Linked DNA regions of Homo sapiens: region 2 is linked to region 1. The links are contacts of gene promoters, found by promoter capture Hi-C in human tissues and cell types (Jung and others, 2019). All regions are on one chromosome and are shown on one strand. Each heading gives the region's core, a stretch centred on a gene start or on the middle of the fragment in contact. The rest is flanking DNA. Distances are from core to core; before and after follow the strand shown. Region 1 holds the start of HERC6 (HECT and RLD domain containing E3 ubiquitin protein ligase family member 6). Region 2 overlaps PPM1K-DT (PPM1K divergent transcript).

Evidence for each region. Contacts are between HindIII fragments. The study calls those that stand out against the background at their distance.
Region 2: a contact is called between a fragment that was not itself captured here and the fragment with the promoter of HERC6 in region 1, in 12 of the 25 tissues and cell types used here (H1 embryonic stem cells, adrenal gland, aorta and 9 more).

Annotation. Positions count from the first base shown.
Region 1 is chr4:88,375,623-88,383,368 of GRCh38, forward strand. HERC6 (HECT and RLD domain containing E3 ubiquitin protein ligase family member 6) reads left to right here and starts at 3,230. Exons shown (of 23, transcript NM_017912.4): 1 at 3,230-3,498; 2 at 7,599-7,746. The coding sequence starts at 3,300. RefSeq lists a silencer at 3,453-3,642 and enhancers at 3,653-3,982, 7,059-7,358. The HindIII fragment of the contact is 12,273 bases long and covers 501-7,746 here.
Region 2 is chr4:88,286,001-88,293,089 of GRCh38, forward strand. The region is part of intron 1 of PPM1K-DT (PPM1K divergent transcript); the gene reads left to right. Among named protein-coding and RNA genes, the nearest start is that of PPM1K-DT, 4.6 kb to the left of the region's middle. The HindIII fragment of the contact is 5,845 bases long and covers 1,465-7,089 here.

The DNA of each region.
Region 1 (7,746 bases), core at 1,980-4,479:
TAACCAGAGTCCAGGAAGAGTAGGGGTAGGGGTGAGGAAAATGAAGAGAGGTTGATTAATGGGTACAAATATACAGTTGGATAGAAGAAATAAGACCTGGTTCAATAGCTCAGTAGAATGACTATAGGTACATTTCAAAACCACTAGCCAATAATAATTTGAATGTTCCTTTTTTTTTTTTTTTTTTTTTTGAGATAGGGTCTGGCTCTGTCGCCCAGGCTGGAGTGCAGTGGCACGATCTGGGCTCACTGCACCTTCCACCTCCCAGGCTCCGGGCTCAAGCAATCCTCCCACCTCAGCCTCCCACGTAGCTGGGACTACAGGTATGTGCCACTGCACCCAGCTATTTTTTGTAAAGATGGGGTTTCACCATGTTGCCCAGGCTGGTCTCCAACTCCTGAGCTCAAGCGATCCTCCCATCTCGGCCTCCTAAAGTGCTAGGATTATAGGCATGAGCCACTGTGCCTAGCCCAAGATAAATTATTTAAGGCGATAGATATCCCAATTTGATAATGTGTCAAATTATCATATGTACCCCCAAAACATGTGCATCTATTATGTATCAATAAAAGATTTTTTAGGCCAAGAGTGGTGGCTCACGCCTGTAATCCCAGCACTTTGGGAGGCTGAGGCAGGCGGATCACTTGAGGTTAGAAGTTCGAGATCAGCCTGGCCAACATGGTGAAACCCTATCTCTACGAAAAATACAAAAATTAGCCAGGTGTGATAGTGCCCGCCTGTAATCTGAGCTGTTCAGGAGGCTGAGGCAGGAGAATCGCTTGAATCGGGGAGGTGGAGGTTGCAGTGAGCTGAGATCGTGCCACTACACTCCAGCCTGGGTGGCAAAGCGAGACTCTGTCTCAAAAAAAAATTTTTTTTTAAAGAAATAACTTAATTTGAGGGCTCAGTATCTTATGGTAATAATACCAAACTCCTACATTTTGTGCTTGAGAAAAGAAATAAACATTAAGAAATTACTATTCAGAAAAAGGTTATATTTGGTATACAGCAAAACAGAACCAGAAATACTAATACTATCCACTGACTCACTACTCATCAATCCAATTGTCCGACATACCCTTATTAGCATCTACCAAGTTCCAGGTACTCTTGAGGTAGAAAAATAAAGAACATTTGTTCTTCTCTTTAAAGAACTTGAAACATGGTCATGAAGAGTGGTGAATTGAAATTACATAAATAGGTTCTGTAATAGTTTCTTTTAAAAAAAAATCAATAATGCTGATGATGGCTAACATTATCAAAGTTACCAAATCTAAAAACCAGTGCTCAGCGGGACATGGTGGCCTATAATCACAGCACTTTGGAAGGCTGAGGTAGGCAGATCATCTGAGGTCAGGAGTTCAAGACCAGCCTGGGCAACATGATGAAACCCCATCTCTTCAAAAAATACAAAAGTTAGCTGGGCGTAGTGGCACGTGCCTGTAGTCCCGCTACTTGGGAGGCTAAGGCGGGAGGATTGCTTGAACCTGGGAGGCGGAGGTTGCTGTGAGTTGAGATCACGCCATTGCACTCCAGCCTGGGCATCAAGAGCGGAAACTCTATCTCAAACAAACAAACAAATAAATAAATAAAAATCAGTGCTCAATCCTTACCTTGCTCCACAAGAAATTGACAGAGTTGATCCTTCCTTTATTCGTTACTTGCTCTGTCTATAACTCCTCCTCCTGGTTTTCCTCCTATGATCAGTCCTCTAGCCTCTGCTATACTGTCACCACATTCACCCCCTGGGTGTTCTCATTCAGCCATCTGGCTTTAAGCATCACCTCTACACTGATGGCTCCCAATTTTCTGACTACACCCAAGCTTCTCTCTACAACTCCAAAACAGTTTATCCTATTGCCTTCTTGATTAACAAGCATCTTACAGTTATCATTACCAATCTGTATTCCAGACACACATAGCTTAAACCTGCACCTTCCTCAGGGTTTCCCAGTCCAGTAGAGTTTACCTTGGAGTAACCCCTAAAGCCAACCCTGGAGTAATCCCTAATCCCTTTTCTTCTTTCCCCCCAATTTCTAATCCATCATCAAATCTGTGGACTCTTACTTTCAAAACATGTCTTGAATCTAATAACTTCTCCTCTCTTCCCTTCTAGGATATCACCTGACCTGAACTCTGAAGTAGTCTCTGCTAACTGGCTTTCTGCTTCCATTTTTGTCCTATTATTTTTCACACAGCAGCCAGATGAATCTTTAAAAACTGAAGTCAGATCATGGCTCTTCTCTATTCAAAACCTTCCAACTGCTTCTTTTCATCCTCTGCCCTCAGGTGTGATCACGACTCATTCCCTCATTTCCCATGTCCCCTCAGCTCTCTGCACAAATATCACTTCATCAGAGAGATCTTCCCTAATATCATCTCAAATACCAGTGCCTTCCGCCTCCACCCTCTGGTTCCTGTTGTATTTTTCGTTGCCCCTTGATATTACACTATGTGTTTATCTGTTTATGTTCTCTTTCCCTCAGGAGAATGTAAACGCATCAAGAGGATCTTGTCTTTCACTAATTGTATTTTCAGGCGGGGCCCAGAGGCTCACGCCTGTAATCCCTGCACTTTGGAAAGCTGAGGGGTGGATCACTTGAGGTCAGGAGTTCGAGACCAGCCTGGCCAACATGGTGAAACCCCATCTTTACTAAAAATACAAAAATTAAGTCGGGCGTCGTGGCGCATGCCTGTAATCCCACCTACTCGGGAGGCCGAGGCAAGAGAATCAGCTTGAACCCGTGAGGTGGAGGTTGCAGTGAGCCGAGATGGTGCCACTGCACTCCAGCCTGAGCAGCAGAGCGACACTCCATCTCAAACAAACAAACAAACAAACAAACAAAAAACAAACATATTTTCAATGCCAAAAAAGGTCTGGAATGAGGTGGGCACTCAGATGCTTTATTAACCACTCTAGGTATTATTCTAACACTTTATGTGCCTATTAAATTATCCCGACATATTAGATTTGCTGAATTGCAGTCCATATTTCGTAGATATGATAGCTGAAGCACGGAATCATTAGGTAACTTGCCCAAAGTGGCATTCACGACTCATAAATGGCTTAGGATGTAAACTCAGTTTTATTCCCTGGGACGCCCTCTCTGCTCTTCAGCACTTGAAGTTCAGGCAGCGAGAGTTGACATGGGGCCAGGGCTGCGCCCCTGGGGCGGGTTGAAGACAGGGTGAGTCTCTTGATATTCAGGAAATCATCGCGCACCCAGTCACCAGCGTTCGGGAGCCTGTCGCAGCGGGACCGACGGAATCCGGAGCAGGCGACAGGGCGCAGAAGCGGGATGTACTTCTGTTGGGGCGCCGACTCCAGGGAGCTGCAGCGCCGGAGGACGGCGGGCAGCCCCGGGGCTGAGCTACTGCAGGCGGCCAGCGGGGAGCGCCACTCTCTGCTGCTGCTGACCAACCACAGGGTCCTCTCGTGCGGAGACAACAGCAGGGGTCAGCTGGGCCGCAGGGGCGCGCAGCGCGGGGAGCTGCCAGGTGAGCGGGGGGCCCCAGGTGCAGGGTGTGAGGACCCCAGTACATGGGCGCGGGGGCTTGGGTACCGGGCGCAGGGAACCGGGTGCGGAGCGCTGGGACCCGGGTGAGGGGCGCGGGGGCCCAGGTGCAGGGAGCGGCTCAGATGCTGGGCGCCGCGGGCCAGGCAGGGAGGGGTGCTGGGAGCCTTGGATTCCTCGGGGCCCGAAGAGCCACAGGAACCAGGAAAATGGTGCCCTGTGCTACCGAAGAGCAACTTCCTCAGTTTCGTTTTCCCAACGCCCCTCGGATTTGTTTCGGTTTCCAATTCAAGTTCAAAGCGAAACTGAGAGCCGAAACTAACCTGGTCAGCGCTGCTCTGGAAAGAGATGTGGTCCCTCCGGCTTGCCTTGCAGATAAATCCTCGCCTGCGCGGTTCTACCTGGAGAAGGCAGCCTGACCTTACAAACGTGGTTTGTGGGTCAGACACCTGTATCTCCCTTAGAAATACACTGGGGCATTAAAAAATATATATATATAAAAATATATATATAAAATATATAAATATATATAATATATAAATATATACAAATATATAATATATAAATATATAATATATAAATATATATAATATATAAATATATAAATATATAACATATAAATATATATAATATATAAATATATATATAACATATAAATATATATAATATATAAATATATATATAACATATAAATATATATAATATATAAATATATATATAGCATATAAATATATATAATATATAAATATATATATAATATATAAATATATATAATATATAAATATATATAATATATAAATATATATATAATATATAAATATATATAATATATAAATATATATAATATATAAATATATATATAATATATAAATATATATAATATATAAATATATATAATATATAAATATATATATAATATATAAATATATATAATATATAAATATATATAATATATAAATATATATATAATATATAAATATATATAATATATAAATATATATAATATATAAATATATATAATATATAAATATATATATAATATATAAATATATATATAATATAAATATATATATAATATATAAATATATAATATATAAATATATATAATATATAAATATATAATATATAAATATATATAATATATAAATATATAATATATAAATATATATATAATATATAAATATATATATAATATATAAATATATATATAATATAAATATATATATAATATATAAATATATATATATAATATATAAATATATATATATAATATATAAATATATATATATACACATAATAGGCCGGACGCGGTGGCTTACGCCTGTGATCCCAGCACTTTGGGAGGCCGAGGCGGGCGGAGCACGAGGTCAGGAAATCGAGACCACCCTGGCCAATATGATGAAACCCCATCTCTACTAAAATACAAAAAATAAACTGGGCGTGGTGGCGGGCGCCTGTAGTCCCAGCTACTTGGGAGGCTGAGGCAGGGGAATCGCTTGAACCCGGGAGGCAGAGGTTGCAGTGAGCCGAAATCGCGACACTGCACTCCAGCCTGGCAACAGAGCAAGACTCTGTCTCAAAAAACATAATAATAATAAATATATATATTATATATGTGAGATAATACAATAATCGTTATGGATTATTGTAGAAATACGAGAAAGCAATCACCGTAGCTCCAACACCCAAAGATAACTCCTAACATTTTGATGCATTTTCTCCTTGTCTACTTTTTTCTATGTACATATTTAATCTTTATAAAAATCATGTCATTATAGATTTGTATATGCAGTATTTATGCAACTCTGTACATTGTGTTTTCATCAAGCATAATCTTATGAACATATTACCCTTTCATTTTGTATGTTTTGAAAATATGTTTTAAATTGCTGCATAACATTCTAAACTCTGAGAGTACCATAATTATTCTCTTTTTGTGGAAATTAGATTGTTTCCCACTAGGGGCTTTTATAAATAATACTGATTGATATTCTCGTAAGCAAATATTTGACTACATTTTTGATGACCTGCTGAGAATAGTTTCAAAAGGTGTGTGGAGGAGGAAAATTTTTCCTCTACCCTCTTAGGTTCAGCGGCTGGGTCCTGCAAACTTAACTGACAAAAGACAGATTGACAGGAGAAAAAGCATACAATTTTATTAATCTTTTACATATAGGGGAATTTACATGCGTGGGAATTTACAGAATAGAAGTGAAACTCAAGTGCTTCGACTTAGGAGCTTGTGTACCATGTTTAACAAAGAAAAGGGGGTTTGGACTTTAAAGGATGATGAACTCAGGGAAAGTGACTAGAAAATATATGGGAAAATCTAATGGAAGATAAGGGTTATTTTAATTGACTTGTTTATGCAGGCTCACCTCAGTGCCAAGTCTTCATCTTAGGTGACCCTTCTCTTCTTTTTTTTTTTTTTTTTTTTTTGAGATGGGGTTTTGCCCTGTCACCAGGCTGTAGTGCAATGGCACTATCTCGGCTCACTGCAACCTCCGCCTCCCCAGTTCAAACGGTTCTTCTGCCTCAGCCTCCCAAGTAGCAGGGATTACAGGCACTCACCACCATGCCCAGCTAATTTTTATATTTTTAGTAGAGACGGGGTTTCACTATGTTGGTCAGGCTGGTCTCAAACTCCTGACCTCGTGATCCACCCGCCTCGGCCTCCCAAAGTGCTGGGATTACAGTTATGAGCCACTGCGCCCGGCTGACCCTTTTCTTGGTGCCAGAGATGGGAGCTTCTCACAAAAGGATATTTATGACCTACTTTTAGGTAGATAAGAAGAGAGCAGAGACCTCTTCCTGCATCTGTTGATTCTCAATTGCCTTCAGCTCAAATTCTTAAAGTAGCATGTTTTCAGGTCTTATCACCCTCATTTGGAAATGAAGGGCAACATGATACTTAACCCCAAATTGTTCTCTAGAAAAATGGTACCAATTTCTATCTTTGTGAGTGCATGAATCTTTGGGAAATTTTAACCTTGCATAAATTGACAGTAAATAGTTGAAAAAGATAAGATTACAAAGATAAAAGGAAAAACAAAATCTTAAATGTTGCAAAAACTTTACTGGTATGATGTTCTCAACTCCAAACCTCTAATAATTCAGAGACAGACACCTTGGGAAAGCAGTTTAGGTTGGCTTGTAGGGAAATGTGATCCGGTTTTCATTTGTGGGCATATTTAGGGCCTCCATAGGGGCATATTTTTCACTTTTCATTGTAAGAGGATCCAGCATCTGCCTCTCACACTCATGAGGTAGGCTCCCTTCCAATTTCCTTCTGAGCAAGGGATTCACTGCTTTCAGTGTTTAGGGTGGGAAGACAGAATAGCAAAATGGAGGAGATCCCAACTTTTTTCTGGGTCTCTTTATTTTGCTAGGTTTTGCTAGAGAAACATTTGGTCATGTGTCATAGTCCCTAGAAGTTACCCCCTCCGTGATGCCTACTCCTTTAAATAACAGCCATTAAAAGATAGACTTGGGTAATTGAATGTTTTTAAGAGTCAATTTGAACATTCAGCAGTTCATGAATTGAGCAGCACCAGACCTCAAGCAGTTGGGCTCCACTAAGGGAGGTGCAAGGAGATGCCAGGGGGAACCTTTGATAACGTGTTCCAGGAAGCAAGACAAAGAAAATACTTGATTGGTTAAAGTGGAAAGTCCCTTGTTTGAAGTAGTCAGCAGTTTCTGGTTGGTAAAGTCTCTAGTTAGATGTTAGTTGGTGGTTTCTGATTGGTTAACCTTAAGTTTCATTTTCCTAGGCTATGATCAATCACTCTGAGTTGGGTTTTGGTTTGCTTAGGTAGGAACCCAAGGTGCTGGAGCCATCTCAACCTGATAGTCTCCCTGTTGATTATTTTAACAGAGCTGTATCCTATAAAGACAGGGTAACATACATTGAATTTACTTCCTTCAGACATTTAGAATGGACTTAAGGTCTTGATTCAAAAGACCATTGGAGGAGACAAGAAATCTGGATGATCCTTCTTTTTGAAGAAAAGTGCTGTCTTAAACTTGTGTTAAATTAATAATCTGCAGTGGTGGTTGGGGGGTGTTTTGTTTTGTTTCCCAAAGAACCAATTCAGGCATTGGAAACCCTAATTGTTGATCTCGTGAGCTGCGGGAAGGAGCACTCCCTGGCTGTGTGCCACAAAGGAAGGGTCTTCGCATGGGGAGCTGGTTCTGAAGGGCAGCTGGGGATTGGAGAATTCAAGGAAATAAG
Region 2 (7,089 bases), core at 3,137-5,636, 88 kb before region 1:
TTTTTTTTTTTTTTTTTTTTTTTTTTTTGAGACAGGGTTTTACTCCTGCCCAGGCTGGAGTGCAGTGGCGCTATCTGAGCTCACTGAAACCTCTGCTTCCCAGGCTCAAGTGATCCTCCCACTTCAGCCTCCCAAGTAGCTGTGACTACAGGCACGCTCAACCATACACAGCTAATGTTTATATTTTTTGTAGAGATGGGGCTTCCCCATGTTGCCCAGGCTGGTCTTGAACTCCTGAACTCAAGCAATCCACCCACCTCAGCCTCCCAAAGTGCTGGGATTACAGGCATGAGCCACTGTACCTGGCGTGGAATTTAAAAAAATAATAATTTTATTGAAACATGTGTCTTAAAAAGTGCACATATCCTAAGTGTAGACAGCTCAATGAATTTTCACAGTCTGCAGACACCTTTGTATCCAGCACCCAGATCAAGGAACAAAACATTATTAATACCTGGGAACCCCATCAACCTGCCTTCCAGGCACTGCCTTCTTCCAAGGGGAGTTTCTATGCTGACTTTCAACAGCATAGGTAGTTTTGCCTATCTTTATACTTGTTATATATAAAGCCATAAAGTATGTGTTCTTTTGTTTCTGGCTACTTGGACTCAACATTACACTTGTGAGATTCTTCCATATTGTTGTATGCAGTTGTAGATCATTCATTTTGTTTTCCATTCTGTGGATATACTGTAATTTATGAATTCATTCTTCTGATGGACATTAGGGCAGTTTGCCATTTAGAGCCATTATAGATAGTGCTACTATGAGCATTCTACTACATATCTGTTGGTGATGGCTTTCATTTGATGGAGTATTTTGGTAGCTAAGTTACTATTAAGTTTTTAAAAATCTGCTCATCAATAATGTAGTATCATGTGTTGCAATATCTCAATCATTTGGATCAAAATTTGGTGCAGATAATGAGGACTTTGCTTTCACAAATGTGAAAAATTTTGGTAACAAGAAAGATGTGGGAAATTTTAAGCTTGGAAGTGTAAAATATTTTGAATTGTCCTGGAGTTTTGACCTTTTTTATAACCACTTGCATGCCCAGCATCTGAGAACATCATGACTTTGCTAAATCCTTGTACCAAAACAGACTGGAATCCAGAGTCACATGATAAGCAAAGCCACTTAGGCTGTTCTGAAGAATATCTTTGATACTAAAACAGTCCTTGAAATTGCCTTTGAAAATCACACCATTTCACACTCTACCACAGCTCATTAAAATTAAAGCCAGCAGTTTACTTCTTTTGAATTATATGCTTCTGGGTTTTGAATCTCTGAAGCATAGCTAAATACACCACAAAAATAATTCATGGCCAGCACAGTGGTTCATGCCTGTAATCCCAGCACTTTGAGAGGCCAAGGCTGCCAATCACTTGAGCTGGGAGTTCAAGACTAGCCTGAGCAACATGTCAAAACCATGGTCTCTACAAAAAAATACAAAAATGAGCCAGGCATGGTGGCGCATACCTGTGATCCCAGCTACTCGGGAGGCTGAGGTGGGAGGATCACCTGAGCCCAGGAGGTCCAGGCTGCAGTGAACCATGATCTCACCACTGTACTCTAGCCTAGGTGACAGCACTTTGGGAGGCCGAGGCGGGTGGATCACAAGGTTAGGAGATCAAGACCATCCTGGCTAACACGGTGAAACCCCGTCTCCACTAAAAATACAAAAAATTAGCCGGCGTGGTGGCGGGCGCCTGTAGTCCCAGCTACTTGGGAGGCTGAGGCAGGAGAATGGCGTGAACCCGGGAGGCGGAGCTTGCAGTGAGCCGAGATCGCGCCACTGCACTCCAGCCTGGGCGACAGAGCAAGACTCCGTCTCAAAAAAATAAAATAAAATGCACAATTATTGGTACACCAAACCCCCATGAAATGCAGTTTATCTGTATAAGAAACCTGTTCATGTACCCCAGAACCTAAAATAAAAGCTTTTAAAATGTGAATAATGTGTAAAGGAAATCATTATTTGGTATTTGACAAAAAATTAAAAAATGGAAAAGAATTCACCACAGAGGCTGACTTGGCATGACAGATCACTGCACAATGTACAAAATAATCAAGGGGATATGGCACTCCGTACATTCATTAAGTTGAGCTACTTCTTTATTCAGTTTATATTTTATTTTATTTACTTATTTTTTTTTAGAGACAGGGTCTCCCTGTGTTTCCCAGGCTGGATTGCAGGGACTATTCACAAATGTGATAATAGTGCACTATAGCCTTGAATTCCTGGGCTCAAATGATTCTCCCGCCTCACTGGAGTAGCTAGGACTACAGGCATGCACCATTGTGCCCAGCTCAGTTTATATTTTAAAGAATTGGACCATCTGCTGAAAACCACTGGCTATCAGAAAATTACACCCAAAACAATTCACAGGGCTTTGGGTGGGTGGGTGGTATGTATAATTGCAGAATTATTAATATTCACTAATGAATCATTTGTTGTTAAAATTAGATATGGACATTTTTGTATACTCAGAATCAGCAGTTTTCTAGAAAAGTATCTGTAGGCTACTCTTGGCCTCATGCCTAAAACATGGGCCTGGGATACTAGGATGTATTTTTTCCACAGTTCAGGCTGCTCTGTCCTGAATTGCTAGCCCAGATGTCCCTTCTCTGTGTTACCAAGATAATTGCCAAAACACTGACATAGAGAATTTTTAGGTCTGTTGCAGTGGCTCATCCCTGTAATCCCACCACTTTTGGAGGCCAAGGCAGGAAGACAGCTTGAGGCCAGGAATTCGAGACCAGCCTGGGCAAGATAGTGAGACCCCTGTTCTACAAAAAAAAAAAAAAAGATTAGCCAGACATGGTGATGTATGCCTGTAGTCCCAACTACTTGAGAGGCTGAGGTGGAAGGATTACTTGATCCCAGGCGTTTGGGGTTGCAGTGAGCTATGAACATGCCACTGCACTCCAGCCTGGGCAACAAAGCAAGACCTTGTCTCTTTAAAAAAAAAAAAGAAAAGAAAAGAGAGAGAGAGAATTTGAAATCTTGTCCTTGGATGCAATTAAACTTGCAGCAATGATTTTATTTTAAAATATGATTGTTGCTTCCCCCACCCTGTATAATTTACCTCTAAAAATTTGGAATAAATAAGCTTCAGGCCAGGCGCAGTGGCTCATGTCTGTAATCCCAGCACTCTGGGAGGCCGAGAAGGGTGGATCATTTGAGGTCAGGAGTTCGAGACCAGCCTGACCAACATGGCAAAATGCCGTCTCTACTAAAAATACAAAAATTAGCTGGGTGTGGTGGCGTGCACCTGTAATCCCAGCTACTCGGGAGGATGAGGCAGGAGAATCACTTGAACCTGGGAGGCAGAGGTTGCAGCGAGCCAAGATCATGCCACTGCGCTCCAGCCTGAACAAAAGAGCAAGATTCTGCCTCAAAAAAAAAAAAAAAAAACTTCGACCAGTACCAATGCTACAGAGATTTGAAATGTCTTTCCATTTCCACCTCCGATTATTTGACTATTATTCATTCTATTTGACCCTTATTCAAGCCTTTAATTGCATGTTTCCCATCAGAGCTGTTGTGAGAACAATCATATTTTGTAAATGTATTTTGTAAGAAAGGTTATACAAAATTGTGTTTTATTTAAATCACAAAATGCTCAAAATCAAGGAAGCGAAATATGATAGTCATTATTAGCATTGTTTGCTAAATGTTTACTGTTCTTCATCACCCAAGCCAGTAGTGCCAGGCGAAGGCAGGCATCTGTGACTTGTCCTGGTCAATGAATTGTGAGTGGAGGTGATGGGGTAATTTTTGAGTGAGCATTTCGTATCCCTGTGCAAGACCCTCCAAGGTTCACTCACCTCTGCCATTGCAACCAGCAATGTTCCAGAGAATGGCTGCTCCCTGAATGACTCCAAGGAAGAGAATTCCACTGCAAGCCTATGATAGCCATGGAACATGAACAAGAAACAAACCTTTGATGTAGTTTGTTACTGGATCTTAACCTAACTTCATGTATCCTATCTCAACTGATAGAAATATTAACCCTAACTTAAAATTAACTTAAAATTATTTACTTGAATTGTTCTTGGGGTAATTTTAGCCTAAGGGAAATTTTCATACATTTATTCAATAAATATTCATGAAGATCATACTATCTATCAGAAACTATGTTAGGCTGTGGACTCATGGCAATAAATGAACAATATAAACCTGGTCTCTGCTTTCATGAAAATTGGAAGGAAAATTTGAAGGTAGGCAACTATGTATGATGAATGCTACAAGTGAAAAAGTATAGTGTTATTCAGTGTGGTTGAATATTATACAAAGCTACCAAGAAACAATGGAGAAAGAGAAAACAAGTTTCTAATTCAAGAAGTATCTTGAAAAGATAGAAAACATTCCTTATATTTGAATCCGAAGCCCTTCAGGGCTAACATTGCTTTTGACCCATGTGGGTCCTCAAGCAAATACCCAATTTCCTGTGCCTCTGTTTCATTATCTGTAAAACAGCACTAAATATAACCTGCCCTGGCTAACCTATATAATCACTTCCAGAAATCAATTAGGTAGAGAACATAAGTGTCCCATAAAAATAAGCAGTGTTATTATTCTTTGAAGCTTTTACAGTGCATTGAAGAAGCCTATAAATATGTAGTTTAAAAAATTGAAAACCCTATAAAGCAACATACAAACACATTTAAATTAATGTTGTATCTTTCTAGCTGTGGGAAATGGTGCATAATAACACAGTGAAAATTATACCTTGGATAATCTAAAAGTCAATGTTTATTGCCAAGTAATATCTGCTAATGCGCTATTAGAATATGGCTGAAACAGGCCAAAAATTCCCTTGTAATCCCTATAAAGAATATTCAATAAATATTTTTCTTGTCAGTGGAATGAAGTGAATGTATAAATAATTAGTTTTGTCCAAGCTGAACAACAGAAAAATGCACGCAGTATTAAGAGAAACTGCCTTTGTCTTTGAAATCTGTAACACTGGAAGTGTGTATGCTTATATCCTATTGGAAATGATGTCCAGTTTTCTAAACTCATCGCTCTCTTCTGAGTCTCCTTTATATTAGAGTTTGGAATATCAAGGTAACATTGTAAGAGATGATGAAAAGCCTGTTTGTCACTGGTTGTCAAGCAACCAAATGCACGTACAAACACACCGCCTTATTTTGTACCGAGTGGGTGTAGGTGCTGAACTGCTTTTCTATTGGTCAGTTTCTCTTCCAATGGCAGAAAAGAAAGTATTATTTTTCCAGCTAATTGACATACTCTGGGAAAGGAACCAGCTATGTTTCTTTCCCTAGCAGTGTTAGATATAGACTTTAAACCAGGGCCAGTTTTATAAGTTATTGTGGCTTTGGGCAATCTAGATTTTATATGCAAAAATACTCCAGAAAAAGTTTAAAAATTCAAATTTTGTGCTATGAGAAATGTGCAAGAGAGATCTGTTTTCTTGAATATACTTTAATTAATATAAGGAAATAAGAATCCACAGTCATTCTGCCACAGTGAAACCAGGAAAGACCTTACCCAGGTCACAAATGACAGCAAAAATGATGTTTCCTAACCCCACCCTGTCTTCTCATAGACCATACGAAGTGATAGGAAGCTGGAATCTGGGAAGAAGGAGAATTACAGCAAAGGAAAAACGGGAAGGGGACCAAGAGAGGGACAGCAGGCTGCCCACATGAGGGACCTCTGTATGGCCTGAAATGTATTTCAATGTAAAGAGTAAAGGAAAAGATGCTCATTGCTCTTCCAGTAACAAACTGGATACCCCTGTATAATGCAAGGCTGTACTATTTTCTACCTGTTCTCTCTTTCCCTAGTTTCTCCCTCCTCCTAACGAATCCAACACCTTTTGATACTCTTTTCATCTTATGACATTATTTCACAAAGTTTCACTAGCTCCCCATTTCCAGTAGGGGAAAAAAAAATCCTAAACTTCTGAGGCTGGTATTCAAACTCTTCCATGGGCTGTTCCTGCCATGGAGCAGGTAGAATTCCTGCTTCTTTGGGTGACTTAAGTCTTTTTCTCTTAGGGACTTCAACTGATTGGTTGAGGGCTACCCCCATATGGAGGATAATCTTCCAGATGAGGTCTACTGATTTAAATATTAGTCCCATCTGAAAATACCTTCACAGCTAGACTGGCATTGGACAAAATATTAGAGAACCTCGGCCTAGCCAAATTGGCAAATAAAATTAACCATGACACTAACCCTTACAAATGCTTCCTCTGTCTAGGCACTGTTCTAAATGTTCTACATGTATCAACTCACTTAATCCTTACATTAGCCCTAAGAGAAGGGCCAGTGTTGTTATTGTCATCCCCATTTTACAGATGAGGCACAGAGAGAGAGGTTAAGTAACTTGCCTGAGGTCACACAGCTTGTAAATGATGGAGCCAGGATATGAATCCTTGCAGTTTGGCTCCACAGTTTATATTCCTAACTACTGTGCTATTTACCTCTCAAAAATAGAAAATGAAAGCTGAACTGATTGATAGTTTATATGTTCTTCCTATAAATGTCTTTGTTTGCCCACCATTAACCTCTATTCAATGTCAGTTTTTACAGAAACCTTACATATATCCACGCAATAGCCCTTTGATATAGATAGTACTATCCCAATGTTACAGATGAGGAAATTTTGAGGCACAAAGTTAATGACGTGCCTTAGGCCATACAGTGGAACAGCAGGGATTTTCACCTAGGCCCCTTAGTCTCCAAGGTATATCGTCTTACTACATTTCCTCTCTGTACATAGTTCAGCGAGGTTAAACATTTTAAGGATGTTCTGGGCCAGGCGTGGTGGCTCAGTTCTGCAATCCAAGTGCTTTGGGAGGCGGCTGAGGCAGTAGGATCACTTGAGCCCAGAACTTAGAGTGTAGGGAGCTATGGTCGCACCACTGCACTCCAACCTGAGTGGCAGAGTGAGACTCCCATCTCTTAAAAAAACAAACAAAAAAAAGATGTTCTGAATAATCTCTGTTTAAAACACATTAATTACTTTAACAAAAGTCAGATTTCTGTTTTGATACATTCCACAAATGAAATACACTGTACATAAAGGATAAGTTTCTGACCATTTCTAGTACC